Regions from separate parts of the Homo sapiens genome. Here regions 1, 2, 4 and 5 are each linked to region 3. Evidence: promoter capture Hi-C in 16 types of primary human blood cells and fetal thymus (Javierre and others, 2016). All regions are on one chromosome and are shown on one strand. The core of a region is centred on a gene start or on the middle of the fragment in contact, and the rest is flanking DNA. Distances in the headings are between cores, read along the strand shown.

Evidence for each region. Contacts are between HindIII fragments. The CHiCAGO score rates a contact against its expected background, and 5 or more counts as called.
Region 1: a contact is called between a fragment that was not itself captured here and the fragment with the promoter of CLRN2 in region 3, in 5 of 17 cell types (total CD8 T cells, naive CD4 T cells, activated CD4 T cells and 2 more). The highest score is 9.6, in total CD8 T cells.
Region 2: a contact is called between a fragment that was not itself captured here and the fragment with the promoter of CLRN2 in region 3, in 1 of 17 cell types (M1 macrophages). The highest score is 5.2, in M1 macrophages.
Region 4: a fragment that was not itself captured here is called in contact with the fragment with the promoter of CLRN2 in region 3 in 1 of 17 cell types (M1 macrophages); the score reaches 6.2 in M1 macrophages.
Region 5: a fragment that was not itself captured here is called in contact with the fragment with the promoter of CLRN2 in region 3 in 2 of 17 cell types (M1 macrophages and M0 macrophages); the score reaches 8.3 in M1 macrophages.

Annotation. Positions count from the first base shown.
Region 1 is chr4:18,594,293-18,597,951 of GRCh38, forward strand. All of the region lies in intron 1 of LOC105374510 (a long non-coding RNA gene), which reads left to right. Among named protein-coding and RNA genes, the nearest start is that of LCORL, 570 kb to the left of the region's middle. The HindIII fragment of the contact is 462 bases long and covers 1,172-1,633 here.
Region 2 is chr4:16,292,799-16,296,549 of GRCh38, forward strand. The region is part of intron 2 of LOC124900674 (a long non-coding RNA gene); the gene reads left to right. Among named protein-coding and RNA genes, the nearest start is that of TAPT1-AS1, 68 kb to the left of the region's middle. The HindIII fragment of the contact is 787 bases long and covers 1,818-2,604 here.
Region 3 is chr4:17,513,737-17,517,268 of GRCh38, forward strand. It overlaps CLRN2 (clarin 2), which reads left to right and starts at 1,429. Exons shown (of 3, transcript NM_001079827.2): 1 at 1,429-1,783. The coding sequence starts at 1,531. The HindIII fragment of the contact is 967 bases long and covers 1,374-2,340 here.
Region 4 is chr4:16,220,658-16,224,498 of GRCh38, forward strand. All of the region lies in intron 1 of TAPT1 (transmembrane anterior posterior transformation 1), which reads right to left. Among named protein-coding and RNA genes, the nearest start is that of TAPT1, 3.9 kb to the right of the region's middle. The HindIII fragment of the contact is 1,839 bases long and covers 1,161-2,999 here.
Region 5 is chr4:16,270,271-16,273,722 of GRCh38, forward strand. No RefSeq gene overlaps it. Among named protein-coding and RNA genes, the nearest start is that of TAPT1-AS1, 45 kb to the left of the region's middle. The HindIII fragment of the contact is 2,273 bases long and covers 526-2,798 here.

The DNA of each region.
Region 1 (3,659 bases), core at 153-2,652, 1.1 Mb after region 3:
TCGGCTCCCTGCAACCTCCACCTCCTGGGTTCAAGCCATTCTCCTGCCTCAGCCTCCCGAACAGCTGGGACTACAGGCACACGCCACCACGCCCAGCTAATTTTTGTATTTTTAGTAGAGACGGGGTTTCACCATGTTGGCCAGGATGGTCTCGATCTCTTGACCTTGTGATCCGCCCACCTCGGCCTCCCAACCATTTTTAACTAAGATATTATGTTGATTGTTTGCTGAAAAATTGCTTTTTTAAAATGTAAAATGCTACACCAATATTAGTTTGCATGATTATTATTTGAATACAGACTTAAGAATCTTTATGGCGAAAATTATGCTTGGCTGAATTAGAAGATCTGTGTCCTGGTTCCCACTTGCTCACTAGTATTTTAGGTAAAATTGGACAAGTCAGATATGAAGACATCCATTATTCCCTCTCTCATATATGGATAATGAGCTCATATTTTGTGTATCCTATGGTGAATGTTATTGACATGAACCTTTTGGGGAGATATTTTGAAGACTCTATGCGTGTCAAGCATGTTACATGTTTAGATCTTATTCTTATTTCATTCCAATAACAAGTAATTCTTTCCTCCTATTAACTGGTAATAGGGTCATTCATGGATCACAGATTTGCTTCAAAGTAAATAAATAATCCCTATAAATTCATGCCTCATTTATTATAAATTATAATGCAACCAGGAGCTAGAATCACCCATACCCCTAAAGCATACACAATTGAATATCTTCAGCTGGAGAATACAGTGTTAGCTTCTTTGTGGCAGGTGGCAATTTAAATAGATGCTCTACCTGCTGATCCTGTTGATTTTATGTGCCCTATTAAAATGCATTTTCTGAATGACTTAGTTTAACATAGCGAATAATTTACAAGAAAAATTTTCCATCTCTCTCCCCAATGTTTGAAATAAGAGCATGTTCTGCTTTTTCCCATAGCCCATTTCTCCATTAAAAGAATGTTCCACATCAGAAATATAATTCCTCTCACACTGGCATTTACAGAGGTCTCATTACATTGAACAGAACATTCTTGAGTATGGCTTGATGAACAGCTGATCCACCTCCATACACCTCACACACAGATCTTGCCAGGTGGAGAAGCAGCACAGGAAAGGGAAAACCTGTGTCCTCCTGGGTACCAGAGAACAGCTTGGCTTTAAGCTTATGGAAAAATGGAGAATACTCTCTCTCACACACACACACACATACACACACACACACACACACACACACACACACACAATATTTCTGGGAGAATATACAAAGACTTAAGAGAGATTAGCTATGAAGAATGAAGATAGGAATGAATAGTTTGGGGAGGATTGGGGAAACCTTGATTTACATTTTTCAGTGTTAATGGTGTTTTTCTTACTATAAATGCGTGAATACATATCACTTCTATGCAAAAAATGATACTCTTTAGGTATTTAAAAGAATGATATCTGCATAGGCCATGTAAGCATTCCAAGATATTTTCAATAAAAAAGGAAGTTACAGAATATGTATAGTCATATATATGTGTACATATACACATATATAATGTATGCCTATGTATACATATATCACTATATATCTAACTTCCTTTCTATTATTTATATATAATGTATGTATATATTTAGAAAGCTTTTTGTTGTTGTTGTTGAGATGGAGTCTCACTCTGTCACCAGGCTGGAATGCAGTGGCGTGATCTCGGCTTGCTGCAACCTCTGCTTCCCGGGTTCAAGCGATTCTCCTGTCTCAGCCTACCAAATAGCTGGGACTACAGGTGCGCGCCACCACACCCAGCTAATTTTTGTATTTTTAGTAGATACGGGGTTTCACCATGTTGCCCAGGATGGTCTGGATCTTCTGACATCATGATCCGCCTGCCTCAGCCTCCTAAAGTGCTGGGGTTACAGGTGTGACCCACCGCACCTGGCCAACTTTTTTATTATTTATACAGACAATGTGGTGTGTGTGTGTGTGTGTGTGTGTGTATATATATATATATATATACATATATATATACACACACATATATATATAGACAATATGTGTGTATGTATGTATATACTTAGAAAACTTATGAACGTCTACATAGCCATATAGTTAAAAATTATTATAAGTGAAAAGATTGAAAGGGCTCCAGTGAAGAAAACATGAACTTTAAAACTGTTCTTGCATATTCTGAGTTTTTGATTGAATTTGTATACTAAAAACGCATTTGTGTATTACTTATGTTGTTCAAAAAGTATATATTTTTAGGGATCAGTCAGATTAGGTGGCTGTTTTGTGGCGGATGAAATATACCCACTTGCCCTGGGCTGTTTCCTGCAGTCTCTGCCCAGGATTTCTAGTCTCTATGCTGAGCCTGTCTGTAAGGTGTTTTCTACCCAGCCCGGACTGGATGATGGTCCTTCACTCTAGTCCCGTAATATTCCACTCCCACTTCTACCTGAGAATTAACTACACTGCATTTTACCTGCTTCTTAATTATCCGACCCAGATAGAACGCAACTTATGGTCACATTTCTACATAGTTTCTGATGTATAATAGGCTCTAAAATCAATGTTTATAAAATGGATGGATAAATGGAAACAGGGAAGAAACAAGCAGGAAAGGAAGGAAGGAAAGGAGGAGAGGATGGAGGAAAGAAGGGAGAAATATACATAAAAGAAGTGGTCGAATTGGATCTTCATCAAGAACAAAAATATCTGAGTTTTTATTCAGCTGTGTCTGAAGAAAAAATGATGGAGAAATGAGAATTCCAGTCATTATAGAGATATACATCATTGGGGACAAGTATTTTTCTTCTGTTTTTGTGTGTGTGTGTGAGTATATTTCTTTTTTATTATTATTATACTTTAAGTTTTAGGGTACATGTGCACAATGTACAGGTTAGTTACATATATATACATGTGCCATGGTGGTGTGCTGCACCCATTAACTAGTTATTTAACATTAGGTATATCTCCTAATGCTATCCTTCCCCCTTCCCCCCACCCCACAACAGGCCCTGATGTGTGATGTTCCCCTTCCTGTGTCCATGTGTTCTCATTGTTCAATTCCCACCTATGAGTGAGAACATGCGGTGTTTGGTTTTTTGTCCCTGTGATAGTTTGCTGAGAATGATGGTTTCCAGCTTCATCCATGTCCCTACAAAGGACATGAACTCATCTTTTTTTATGGCTGCATAGTATTCCATGGTGTATATGTGCCACATTTGCTTAATCCAGTCTATCATTGATGGACATTTGGGTTGCTTCCAAGTCTTTGCTATTGAATAGTGCTGCAATAAACATACGTGTGCTTGTGTCTTTATAGCAGCATGATTTATAATCCTTTGGGTATATACCCAGTAATGGGATTGCTGGGTCAAATGGTATTTCTAGTTCTAGATCCCTGAGGAATCGCCACACTGACTTCCACAATGGTCGAACTAGTTTACAGTCCCACTAACAGTGTAAAAGTGTTCCTATTTCTCCACATCCTCTCCAGCACCTGTTGTTTCCTGACATTTTAATGATCACCATTCTAACTGGTGTGAGATGGTATCTCATTGTGGTTTTGATTTGCATTTCTCTGATGGCCAGTGATGGTGAGCATTTTTTCATGTGTCTTTTGGCTACATAAATGTCTTCTTTTGAGAAGTGTCTGTTCATATCCT
Region 2 (3,751 bases), core at 961-3,460, 1.2 Mb before region 3:
ATGTGATCCTGGCTGCGGCAGTTTCCAGAATATCATCAGGGTAACTTTCCCGCTGTGCGGTCTATGTTGGAACTTACATCGTCTTTAAAAGGCACAAATAGCTGAATAACATAATGTAACCTGATGTTCTGACAACCCCACTTATACTCAGGCTAAATTTAAAGGTCACCATTGCAGGGAAATAGTGGCATGAGAATAAAAGTGCCTTAAACATGGATTTCACTGATGTTTCCTCATTTCAAAATTCTTACGCTGTAAAATAGAGGCAAAATGGCCTGTGAGCTTGAAAATATATGAAGTGAAGAATCCATTTCTTGGGAACAAGGTGGTTTTAGGAAAAATTGTAAAATAGGTAGACACAAGTGTACAGTAGCCAAAGTTTATCTTAGATGTTCTCTGTAAAATCGTGCTTATTCATTCTTTTCCTTTGTATTTACCAAATGCCTACTATGTGTCAGGAATTGTGCTAAGCCCTGTGATCAAATGGCATGGGAGACAAACAATCCCTGCTTTCACAGAGCTCACAGTTTAGCAGGGAAGAAAGACATGGAAATAAATAATTATAACAAAGTGAGATGAAGGTGGCGAAAGAGGAAATGCATTTGGGAGCACACAGCAGGGGGGCCTGTAATAGTCTAAAGGTGTGGACAGCACTTTCTCCTGATGAGGTAATGCTTTACTGAAAGCTAACACATCAGTAGAAGAAAAGCATTTAAGGAAAGGGGAAAGTGTAATACAGATCAATGGGACAGCAGAGCTAGAAGCTAGGAGAGGCAGAAGAGCAGGCCACAGCTGGGACTAAAGATAACCTGGAGCAGAACTGGCAGACTACTGCCCACTGGCCACATCCTGCCTGCTGCCTATTTTTGTAAATAAAGTTTTATTGGAATACAGCCACATACATTTGTGTACTTATGGTTTATGGCAGCTGCTGCCATACAATGGCTGAGTTGATTAGCGTGTGGCAAGTATCATAGTAGGCCCTTGATAAATAGTTGTCTGTATTCTCCCCATTTTACAGGTAAGAACATTGAAGGGAAATGGCTTAAGGAAGAACAGAAAGTTCCTATCTTCTTAGGAAAGGGCTCATTGTTCTTTGGCCTTGAAACAATTGCCAGACATGGTTTTAAACTTTTCCTAATTGGTCATTAGCTATTTTGCATCAGCACAAACACTGCTGAAAGTCATCCAATCAGCAAGACTGTCACTCAGGCATACAGCTAAATATTACCCAATCTGTAAGTACCCCTACTTCTGAGAAATTCCATGAATCCCTGAACTCCATACATCCCAAATAAATATATATAGCCAGCTCTCAGCTGTGCTCAGAGAGACTGGGCTTTACAAGTTGTTTTTCTCACTGGTTATTATGGCCTCTTTTTTGGAATACCCAAAATGAGTGAAGGAACTGAACTGGGATTCAATTCCGGACTATCTTCTTTCAAATCCCATACTCTCTTGTCTACTCTTCTTCTCTTAGAGTTTTGAATGCATGCTGCTGGTGTTAGTGGAGACGATGGTAGCTGGGTAGCTGGTACACAATATTGGCATTAAATAACATCACATAGGAAGGAAGTCATTTCCTTCTCTACCTTCAATTCTGTTTTAATCCTTCTTCATATACCCAAGATAAACTCTCAGTTGAGAGATAGTACACATAGCAGTTAACAAAACAGGCTCTGGAGCCAGATTTTCTACTGCTATTTTAGTTATCTATTGTTGGATATGAAACTAGCCCCAAACTTAGAGATGGAAGACACCAATAAAAATTTATTATCTTGCACATATCATGTGGGTCAGGAATGAAGAAGTGTCTAAGCTTGGTGGTTCTGACTCAGCATCTCTCATGAGATCATAGTCATGATGTTAGCCAGAGCTGGAGTCATCTGAAGACTTGAGTGAGCAGGAGGATTCTCTTCCAAGAATGCCCCCTCCCATGGCTTGCAAGTTGGTGCTGGCTGCTGACAGAGGCCTCAGTTTCTTGCCTTTCCATAGTGCTGCATGAATGTTGTCATGACGTGGAAGCTGGCTTCCTTGAAGTAGCTGATGCCAGAGAGCAAGGCAAAAGGAACAATATCTGTTATGATCTATCCTTGAAAATCACACAATATCACTTGTGTGTGCTTTGGTCACAAATACACTATGGGAGCTGACTACACAAGGGAGTAAATACCAAGAGGCAAAGACCACTGGGGGTCAGTCACCTGGGAGGCTGCCACTACCACTTACTAGCTCTGTAATGTTGGGAAAATTATTAAACTTCACTGTGCGTCAGTCTCTCTACCTATAAAGTGAGAATAATAATATAACCTACCTCATATGCAAGGTTTTTTTTTGAGAATTAAATGAGGTAATATCAGTAGGGCCTATGAAAGAGTGCTTAGAACTGAGTGCATACTAAGAAATGTCCACCGTTAGTACTTTGATAACTGTCTAATCCTGTAATCCAGTGTTACTCAAAGAGACAGTACTTCTTGAGATCAGGAGTCTGACACAGCAATGTAAATCAATGCCTTGCTTTCTTCATTGAAGAAGTCATAAATTTGTTTTTAATGTCAGTTGTAATATTGTATATAGTGATTTAGTTAATTTACATTTGGAGCAAGCTTATTAAGTGTTTGTAAACTAAAAAAGCAGTTTGTAGGCCAATAATCTGTCCATAAACCACACTTTGAGTACTGCTTTCAACACTTGCTAATCTTTTGTTAACATAAGAGTATAAGGAATAGTCCTTAATGGCATCATTTTCTTTTCTTTTCTTATCTTCTAAATTTCTCAAAATATAGAGGGAGGTGGGTAAGAACAGATAATTTTATGCAACTGATAATGTGCTATCAAAATGCAGAAGGATGGGAAGAATGAGCTAAGAGGAATAGATATTTACAGGCAAAGAAGTTTTGGAAAGTCATGGAAGGGAAGAATTCATCTTTGTAATGGCAAATGGCTGTTTTTATCCATTTATAGACATGTTATAAATTTTTTCTTTTAAATAATCTTATATCTTAGCCTGGGTTCTCCAAAAGCAAAGCCCAAGACGAAGGTTCTCATATGGGCTAATCCTCTGGAAAATGATTTCAGGGAGCAGAAATTTGGGAGTAGATCAGGAAGCAGATACAAGAATGAGTTGTTGAACTGGCCTCTGCTGCGAGGGTGGGAGTTCGGTCTCACCAGGATGTTCTGAGGGCCTTTTGAAATCCTTATGTCCCTGGGAGATGAAAGAGAAAAACATTTATCCATCGGCTTCTTTCCTTCCATTAGTCAAAGATGGTCCCCTGGTCACCACTCTCTTTTACTTCCAGGATGCATGTTGCATGTAAGTGTTCTATGGGTTCCAAAAGGGAGTGGGCAGCAGTGTGGAATTCCAAGCTAGGCAACAAGAGGTATGTGGTCTAGCTAGAGGCCAAGAGCTCTTTGGTTATTTCTTTGCAGAGCTAGGAAAAGTCTGCTGCTTAGAACTTTCAGAGTTGGCCGGGTGTGGTGGCTCACCCCTGAATCCCAGCACTTTGGGAGGCCAAAGTGGGTGGATCACCTGAGGTCAGGAGTTCAAGACCAGCCTGACCAACAAGGTGAAACCCTGTCTCTACTAAAAATACAAAAATTAGCCAGGCATGGTGGCACATGCCTGTAATCCCAGCTACTTGGGAGGCTGAGGCAGGAGAATTGCTTGAACCCAGAAGACGGAGGTTGCAGTGAGCCAGGATTGCACCATTGCACTCCAGCCTGGGCAGCAAGAGTGAAACTCTGTCAAAAA
Region 3 (3,532 bases), core at 179-2,678:
GTGCATCTCCTGTTTACCTTAAAGGGTTGCTGGAGCATCAGAGGTGAGCAAGCATATGGTCAAAGCATTTTGCATTTTGTACATGGTAAAGTGCCACTCATCTGTATATATAGTAAGAGACAGGATCTCACTCTGTTACTCAGAGTGGCATGATCATAGCTCACTACAGCCTTGAGCTCCTGGGCTGGAGCAGTCTTCCAGCCTCAGCCTCCAGTAGCTGGGACTACAAATACACGCCATCAGGCCCAACTATTTTTTTTTTTTATTTTTTGTAGAGATAAGGTCTCACTACATTGCCCAGGCTCAGAAATTCTCATTTTTATTTTCATTGTGGAGTGGCCACTGAAGTGAGCCCCAGTTGCGAGGAAGGAAACTGACATTTCCATTAATGTGTCCCTCTGCTTCCTTGACACTCTCCAAGTGAGATTCCTGGGACCCCTATTGGTTAACAGTGCAACTTCCTGAACCCCCCTTCAGGCTTCTGTGACCAACTAAGAAATTTTACTGCTCCACTTTTGCCCAACTTTGCTCCCCAGAGATATGGATAGAGTGACTGTTGCCAGTCTCACATGATGTTAAGTTGATATTCAGGAATAAGGTAAAAGTCAAAATGTCAAAGTCCACAGTATAAGATAGAAAGGAAAGAATATTTCATTCCTAGTATCTACAGATTAAAAGGAAAGCCTAGATCTTCCACTATTAGAAGAGATGAATACCCCAGCAGTGTGGCTACTATTTGCTAATACACTAGAAAAACACTTTTCTCTCCCATTTCAGATAACGTAGAAGGAGGGACGGGTGAGAGCAATGTTAAGTGTTGGATTCCAGGCTACCCCAACAGCCACAAAGTAATTCTAGTCACAGTTTACCCCCAGCAGATTCACACAGTGAGAAATTCATAAGGCCCTATTTACACATTTCAATATTAAAGCCCCAAGAACCGGGGTCATTTGATGGTATTAATAACAGTCCTAAAGATTCTGACAGCAGTGACATTTCAGAGAAAGAAATGCCAGGGCACCCATGCATCAGCGAGATCGACATTTGATACTGCGCATTGTTGGCAATATTCAAGTGCTAATCATTCTGTTTTTGTTTTCCTTCTAACACATGCATTTTTTGAGATTGGTTTGCGTCTCTTAATCTTCAGAGCTACCTGATTTTGCTTATTACTAACTCCTTTATCATTACGAGGTCCACACCAGGGCTATTTAAATACTTGAAACGAGGAACAGTTAAACAGTCTGCTGAAACATTAGTCTAGGAGGAGATATAAGGTTACTTCCTTCAGTAACACACTCCGCTACATAGTCAGGTGAAGATTGTCTCTGTAGAGGCTTCTGGATGTGGTTGTAGGAAGCATGGACTGTGCAAGCTTGCGCTGAAGGAGGACGAGAGGATGGACCTACAACCTTGAAACAGAGTGTTTGGAAGAGCTGACCTTGGAGCAGAGCATTGCCGAGTATCTGAAAGATGTCAATGACCCTCGCTGCTGCTCGGAGACCTTGGGGATGACCTGCACCCACTAGCATGCCTGGATGGTTCAAAAAGGCGTGGTATGGGCTGGCGTCTTTACTCAGCTTCTCCTCCTTCATCCTGATCATCGTTGCCCTGGTAGTGCCCCACTGGCTGAGTGGGAAAATCCTTTGTCAGACTGGAGTGGATCTGGTCAACGCCACAGACAGAGAGCTGGTCAAGTTCATTGGGGACATTTACTACGGGCTCTTCCGAGGGTGTAAAGTGCGGCAGTGTGGGCTTGGGGGCCGCCAATCCCAATTCACGAGTGAGTATATTGGGAGCATGAAAGCTGATTCTAGGCACTCATTTTTGTTAATGTGTAAGAGTGCTTATGTCTCATTGTGGAATTTGGCTGCTGCCTCAACGTCAGGCATAATGTCAAAGTCCACAGTGAGCCAAGGGTTCTGGATCCACATCAAAAAGATCTTTCCTTCCTTCCTTGCTTCCTTTTCTTTTTCTGTAGAGATGTATAGAAACATTAGAAATAAGGATTTGTGCATTTTTGCAGTTTACCTCTATTAATTATGACTATTAAAATATTGAGAGTTTACACGTGTCAGACATTGTAAGCACCTCACGCCACTTGTCTCCTTAAAGCCTTACAACAAAGTTATACAGAAGGAATTGTTAATGTTCCCATTTTCCAGAGGAGTACACTGAGGCTTGGAGAGGTTACATAACTTACCTGAGGTCACCCAGCCAGGAAACAGTAGAGCCGGACTCCAGACCCATGCCACATGACCACAACAAGTGGGTGGAGGCTGCCTGCAGAACTGAACCTTTGGGAAGCATGATGACCCTTTCCACATCTACTTTTGTAAAAGCTTCATAGTCTGAGAAAATGCAAAGGGGCACTGTGCTTGGGTTCTGGAATCAGACTACCCTGGCTGAAACCCCTACTGGAAAGTTTACTGGTGGGGAGACCTCAAGCAAGGCACTTGCCTGTTCTCTGTGAACGTGAGCGGGCACCGACTTTGGCTGGCATTCAGTGTAGCATCAGAGCTGCCCAGGATGTAAGCAGAGCAGTCTGCACAAACAGGAATCCAAGCTGGACTTAGGAACGGGCTTCTGGAAAGGAAAAAACAAAACAGGCAATATTCTGCAAGCCTTTTGAATCGATGAGATCACTGGTGAAAAGTGTCTGCACAAAACCGTAATTAATCAATACCATGCCAATGTAGGGTGATACAGAATTGTATTCATTCCTTGATTTCTATATTTCAGTATTGTAGTAGTTTATAGAAATCTGGCCAAGGTAAATGTCGTATTAAATTTATAAGGACAAAAAGCTGGAACCGTTGACAAATATAATACAAATTGTCATCATTTAAACACACAAAAATTTACATTTGTTATGTATATTCAAGATCAATATGTCTGGGCATATTTATATTTACCTAGCAATTAGATTAGACCCTGGATATTGAACAAATAGCTCCATCAAAATTATAACATAAAACTTGAAAACACACACACATAAACAAATAAAAAAAAGAAATGCTAAAAGCTAACCATGACAACTACATGGACTACTCGATTCTGAACTAGATGCTTTGCTATAAAGGATGTCTTCGGGACTTTAGGGGTCAAGAAAACTTCCCCTTTGCACTCTGAAGGTTCTCTAAACAATCTACTGACAAAAGGCAGATTAATAGGGAAAATGGCTTACACATTTATTAGCATGCATAGGGGAAAAATCACAGAGTGATTGTCCGCTATCTCAATGGGGTACAGGTGGTTGTATCCTCTTCATCTTAGGGGAAAGAGAGATGGGGAAGTGTGGATGATTTTAGGGGACTAGTAAATTATTTTTAGGGAAATTCAATGGGCTTAAAGAACATACAGTGAGCTGGGACAAAGTCTGTTGAGCCCACAGAGCAGACATTGGTTTGTGACAAAAGTCTGTCCAGCTGTGTTAACAGACTTTAGTCTTTCTTCCTGTGATATGGGTACAATTAATGAACACTCAGGGAAGGGACCAGAGGTCTTTTTCTTTGGTAGGTCTGGATGTAGG
Region 4 (3,841 bases), core at 830-3,329, 1.3 Mb before region 3:
AGAATTGCTTGAACCCAGGAGGCGGAGGTTGCAGTGAGCCAAGATCGCACCACTGTACTCCAGCCTGGTGACAGAGCGAGACTCTATCTCAAAAAAAAAAAAAAAGAAACATTTTACTATTATAGCATAAACAAGTGCTTAACATTAGAAGAACTATGTTTTGACAACTGTGAATTTTCTTTTTTTTTTGAGACAGGGTCTCACTCTGTTGCCCAGGCTGCAGCCCAGTGGCACAATCTTGGCTCACTGTATTTTTTATAGAGACAGGGTTTCACTATGTTGCCTAGGCTGGTCTTGAACTCCTAGGCTCAAGCAATCCACCCGCCTTGGCCTCTCCAAGTGCTACGATTATAGGTGTGAGCTACCGTGCCCAGCCGTCAACTGTGAATATGTAATATGAGGAAAATAATACCAATCATAAATCCAAATCAATTCCTCCAGCACATACGTACATATATATATACTTTTTTTTTGGAGACACAGTCTTGCTCTGTCACCTGTTGCCCAGGCGTGAGTGCAGTGGCACGATCTCGTCTCACTGCAACCTCCACCTCCACCTCCTGGGTTCCAGCAATTCCCCTGGCTCAGCCTCCAAGTAGCTGGGATTACAGGCGCACACCTCCACGCCCAGCTAATTTTTTGTATTTTAGTAGAGACAGGGTTTCACCGTGTTGCCCATACTGGTCTCGAACTACTGAGCTCAGGCAATCCACCCGCCTCAGCCTCCCAAAGTGCTGGGATTACAGGAGTGAGCCACCGCGCCCAGCCCCTCCAGCATATTTTTACATGATATCATCTCCTACCACAGAATTGCTCTGTGATCCAGAACTTAAATTCAGAAAAAGCATAGTATAAATTGCTTTTTCTTCACCCCTAAAAGAAAAAACACAATGTTTAATTATCTTCTAAGAAAGCTTATTTTAGAAATAAGAACCAAAGATTAAAAAGTATTAATTAAAAGTAATGAGTAATCATAAATATATTTATATGTTCAGTAATATGTCTAAATATATCTTTCTTAAAATAGCATTGAGCATTTAAAAATTTGGAAAGTAATACTGGTTAACTGTTAGGAAAATATGAAACATGCATATCTCCATAGTCTTAAATAACATAAAACTTTAGTAAACTTTATTAAGGTTACACTAAAATATTAAATAAGCTTATTGAACAGAGACACACTCTTGTACCAGGCCAATTAGTAATCAGCTTTTCTGGGACTCAATCATACAACAGCAATTCTGCCTTCCTAAGTCAAACATTAAGTAAAGAACCATTTCACACAGTATATTCAAGTTTTTAAGATGTTTGAAAAAATGTTTATAGTCTCATTTAGAGGAGTAAAGAGTAGAATATTTACACATGTATAGATGGAAAACAGGTATAAACAAAGGAGTGACTTTTTCCAAGGTCATAAGGTTATAAAGCAAAGGATTACAAATGAGAATAGAATATCATTAATTTGACAGTCAATGCTATATAGGCTTTCCAGAGACTTCTTTTATGCAAGTAGTCCCCAAATTGGAGCACAAATGAGCTGCTAGGATTGAATTTCAGAGCGTAAACTAAGTTAAAGTTAAAAACTGTCAAAAGCCAAGACACTGAACTGATCAAAAACCAAAATAAGTAACTTTTCATTGTTCGTTTGGTCTATATATACTAATTAAGTAAAGCAAGTGAGAATTTTAAAAGCAAAGCAATAGTTTGTCAGAAGTAGCTAATTTTACTTTGTATCTGGTTTGTGGTTACTCCAAGTAATTTCCCGGTTTTATTATTTTTATTTTTCTTTGTGAACAAATTAATTGGCTCTAGATCATAATTTTAGAATCAGTCACCCTTTAATCATCCATTTGGTTAAGTTTGGGGCCACTGGGATAACTATGTGATATAGGTGAAGACTGGTTAAATGAAAACATATTTTAATAAAAATGTATTTGTAAGAAGAAACTGACAAATTTTCAGTTACACAAAGAATAAGACATAGGTAATATGAATAGTTAAAACCTTCGTCCCACTCGAAATCTTTTAAGGGTATTGCTAAAAATTCAGTTGACTTTTCTGGGTTTCATTCTTCCTGCCTCTGCTCAATCTCTAACAGAGGTGAAGCAAGAAGAGGTCTAACCATGGTTAAAGGGAGAGGAGAGAGGCAAAAGAGATGGATAATAAGTTGAAGTTTTAGAAGTCCAGAGTCACTGTTAAAGAAGAAAGAAATGGGTCCATGGCACTGTTACCAGTAGAAACAATATGTTCACCTATACCCGACTTCAGGCTTTCTTGTTTTACAAGCAATACCTATCCCCATGCATCTCCAACACCTGCATTACACAGGTACTGTTTCACCTGTGCTACCCTCACAGGTGCTACCCTTATTTACACCAAGCCTTCTGTTAAGTCTCCATGGTGACTAGAAGCAACCTAGATGCTTCAGATACTGAACTATCTAGTAGTGGCATTATGAAACAGAACCAAACTGATTAGGCAAGCAGTCTAAGCAAGCACAGAGTTTACAAAGCAATTCAACAACCCAACCAAGCCAAAAACACAGATTTCCTAATGCTTAGTCCAAAGTTGATTTGCTGTACTTAGATTCCTAAATAAAAATATGGCTATACAGAAACTCTCCTACCTAGGACTTCTGCAGATGAATCAAGTGGGGAACAAGCACAAAAACATAACATTGATTATTTGGTTTTATGTCAAAAGGAACAACAGAAGTTGGTAGTATTTTCAAGGACAGGAAGAAAATACAGAAGAGATCAATCTGCAGTTCTTGATAACCACTACATCCAGAGTTCAAGGCCAGTAACCACATATGCAACAAGGAAATACACAATGACCATTCTGAGAGAGCAAATAAAAACAGGAATGATGAGTGGGATTCCCAATTCTAACTATGTTAAAAGGTGTAAGTACTCGCATCTGAGACATGCGTCAGCCTATTGCCAGGCTAAATATAAGTCAGAACGGGAGTTCTGAGAACGAAGTGATGAGGAAAAGAAAGCTTAGACTTAATGGAGACACATGTTTAGTATAATACAATATAGAGCATATACAGCTATTCATACAGACAAATATACATATCTAGTTTCTAAACATATAAATCAACAAGGAGAGATATAAAACAAAAAATGAACCTCAGACACCACGTTTTATTTTATTCAGATGGAAAGAGTTTGGATAAGTACCTAATATGTACATTCATTTAGGGAATTCTAGGCTGTTGGGACTGATCAACAAATGTCTTACCTGTAGGAGCCCTAAATTCCTTGTGAGAAATGATAAAGGGAACTTTGGAACTGACTGATGGTTCAGCCACCAAGACACTAAGATTATGACTTTCAAAAAGAAAAGCCAAAGGTTGCCTTAACTTGCAGGGGGATCTAGATCTCAAGGGCAGTGGTGCTAGACTCTCAGAGGCACACAAGAATATAAAAAAATCAACAAGTAATACCTTAAGTCCGAGCATCTAGCCGTGGAGGACTAGTTTGATTCAGGGAGAAATGCTATCCAAATGACTCCAGGTGCTGCCACTCAAAGGCCCTCTGACCCAGGCCAGCTCCTAGGGAATCGTTTTTAAAAATTCTTAAAAGGAGGGGAAGGAAGGATTACAGAGCAGGGGAAGAGGGCAGCGCTAGACTTAGCAGCCTGGGCATTGAAGAAGGACTAAAATAATTGTTTCTAGTGGGGAAACCTCTAACAAATATGGTTATCGGAGCTACAGACTGGGTGCTAGCAGTGGCAGGAGCTATGTGACTAGCAGAGCAGGGACACCAGGGGAAAAGAAGGAGGGGCTTATGTGGAGGCTCAGAGAGAACACTGGCCAGTGGCTCCAGCTGAAATA
Region 5 (3,452 bases), core at 412-2,911, 1.2 Mb before region 3:
TCCGGAGCTTGGTTCTTAACCACTACCTCCACTGCATCTGATTATGTCATCTACTCACAGGATATTTTCCAATTTAAAATGACCGCAAGCAATCCTTAGAAACAGCCCCAATTTGCCAGATAATCATGACTGTCTTCCCTCCTATCAGGGGAAGCCATGTGGATCTGGCTTAAATTTCTTAGGAGAGGTGTATCAGTTAGGGTTCCTCTTTGGAAAGCCACAAAAATGAACTCTGGCCAAGATCTTATAAAAGGGGAATTTGTTAGAGGGATGTATGGATTAGGTAATAAGAGGGAAACTGGAGAATCAAGCTTAAAAATAGGATGGGAGGAGCCACGAACATAAACTATGTCTACTGTGGAAGTATAAGCAACAGGAACTTCACAAAATTCAGGGCACTGCTGCTGGAGCAAAAAAACCCCAATTCTTCTGAGCCTTGGGAGCCTTGGGAGCCTTGGAAGAATGAATATAAATGGCCAAGTTGGACCATGCACTTCCTAGGGACTGTACAGAATGGTGAGAGGAAGCTTCTTGGGGAAGGAGCCTCTGGGTATTTCAGAACAGAAGTAGAAAGTATTGGGACTTTAGTAGTGGGAGGGAAGAACTTCATGTTTTTCTACTGATATTGCACAGAATGGGGAAGAGGTAAGTATGAATGGGGAAGAGGAGGGAGTGAGCAGGAAACTGACTTGAAAACTATTACAATAGACCAAGTAGGTGGTCATGTAAGATTAAAACTTGGATAATAGAAGAAAGAATGAGAGGAAAAGTAGGATTTAAGAGGATGACTTAACAGCAGTTTTCTTTTTTCTTGTTCTCCCCTATTTTCGGAGTTCTCAACCATCATCTCCTGCCCCCAGGAGGCGACTCTGGGAATTAGAGGTTGTCTATTCCCATGTCTGAATTCTTGCCTAAAGGCCTTCAATTGCTGACCTCTTTTCTCAAATTTTCAATCTCATCTCAGTATCATTTTGCTTCCCAGTATTTTCGATACAAATCATTTTACTTATGATAGAAACCGAAGCAAGTATGGTTTGTCTTTGTAATGTAAACGTAATTTCGGAAGTAGACCATTCCTCTTGATCATAAGCAAAGTCAAACCTAATATTAGTTTGGATTTATATTACTGTTAATATTATTTACTCTCTGAAAACAGACTGCCCCCAATTAACATTGTGAATTGTCTGCCCTGTAATGACCAGATATTCCATTCTATTACATTATTGAAATCATTTGCATGGTAATTATGGTTTAGCTCTATCGGTAATTGGAATTGTTTGCCTTCTGGTAATGTTGTACAATGGTGGCTCATTAATCACATAGAAAACCTTGCCACGTGGCAGAATTAAGGAAGTATAATAATACACTCCCACTAAACTCGTGGTTCTAAACCAGCGTTTCAGTTTGTTCCATTACCTTTCCTGTGATGTAGGTTTTTGTTTGTTTGTTTGTTTAGTTTCTAAGCCACTCATGACAGAAAAACAATATAAACTGCAAATGTGAAAATGTGATTGTTCTAGGAAAATTTTATTTAAAAATTCCACAGCACGAATTACCCATCTCATCTTCCTCTTCTCTTCAATATTTCTCCTTCCTCCAATCTGATAAATGAAGCAAATATCATAGGCTGCCAAGGGAATTGAGATATTTTTGTGTGTGAGTGTGTGTGTGTGTGTGTGTGTGTGTATAATTTAAGTAAACCAAATGTATAGGAAAAATCTGAGTTTGCATTAAAAACAAAACAAAGCAAACAACTGGGGACTTAACCTTTACTTTACAAAAGGATTCTTTTAAAAACGGTCTTTAAATCCCAAAGTGCCCCTGGTGCGGTGAAATTACTATTTAATCTCTAAAATTTATATTTTTTTCAGGAAGTTTAATAGAATCAAATGATCCAAAAATCCATATACACACACACATGTGCATGCAATTAAAATATGGTCATCTTCTTGTCTGATGTGCTGGATCAGTGCCTGACATGTCAAATGCACTCAGAGATGATTTCTTCAATGGTGGTGATGGGGCATTCTGGCAGGTGATCGCCCCTCAGAGCCACATGTGTAAGTGAGGCAAGTGCCGTCTTTCCTTGGCGTCCTATACCTTCTTGGATGCACCCTCCCCTTTCCCATTTTTAGGGATTTTTAGGGATGCACCCTTCCCTATTTCCCAGCCAGAGCCCAGAGAGGGGAAACAAGGACAGGCTGTCTCTTTGGCTGCTGGTCTACTCGCACTTCCACTATATCCCCTTGGGACCAGAAGTGAGGATGGGTTTCTCATTCTTGTCTTTTCCTCTCTCCCAGGACTCCTTCTGGTATCCACAGTCTAGAGGAGGCAGGGACCGGGCATCTGACACCCCTACATAACATTCTCTTTTTTCTTAATTCAGCTCCATCATTAAGTTTTAATAATGGGAAGAGTGGATTACATGTGTTTCAGTTTTTTGATATATGAAATTTGGGCTGACTAAGTACTTAATCTGAAATGACATTGTTTTAAACTGGAAGAGTGTTGCAAATTTAGATTTTTTTCTACTATCCATTGGGTGTAGACAGGTATTAGGTGGAATAGTTATTTTTTTCTGCACATCTGAGTCCAGAGAACAAATTTGCATCTGTCACTACACAGGTCTAAGGGTTCATCTTGGGCATCTGCAGAAAGACTGGGTGAGTGTTTGAATGTGGGATCAGAGATGACTGTGAACTTGGGGCCCCTTCAATGAGCCCAGCCTTTGGGGGTACAGTTTTGGGCCATACTATAGCCTAGTTACTCAAACTAGGGATGCATAATGGAAAGAGAAAAGCTTTTGGAGTCAAATACCTTCAGTTTTCTTTTTTTCTTGTTAGATAGGGACAATTATTCCTATCATAATAATTAAATGAGATAATATATGTAGGGCACACGGTATGGCACCTGGGACATGGTAAGTTCTCAATACGCATCAGCTGCTATCTTTCATGTTATTAATGGGCCTCGGGGCTTTTTGCAACATTGTCCGCATCAGAGCCATAGTCGTGTCGTCCTTGAGTAACACAACTTTTGCAGGAAGCCAACAGAAGGCTTTAGAGAGTTGCCAATTTTGGAAAGATGCATTAGTCAGCTAGGTCTGCCATAACAATATACCCCAGACTGGGTGGCTTAGACAATAGAAGTTTACTTTCTCATCGTTCTGGAGGCTGGAAGTTCAAGATTAAGGTACCAGAAGGGTTGGTTTCTGGTAAGGCCTCTCTTCCTGGCTTGCCATCTTTTCACTGTGTCTTCGCATGGTCTTTCTTCTGTGTGTGCTCATGGAGAGAGAGAGAGCACTCTGGTGTTTCTTCCTCTTCTTATGAGGACACTGGCCCTATCAGATTAGGGCAACATCCTTATGACCTCATTTAACTTTAATTACCCTATCTCGAAATACAGTCACATTGGAGGATGGGGCTTCAACATATAAATTTTGGGCAAAGGGA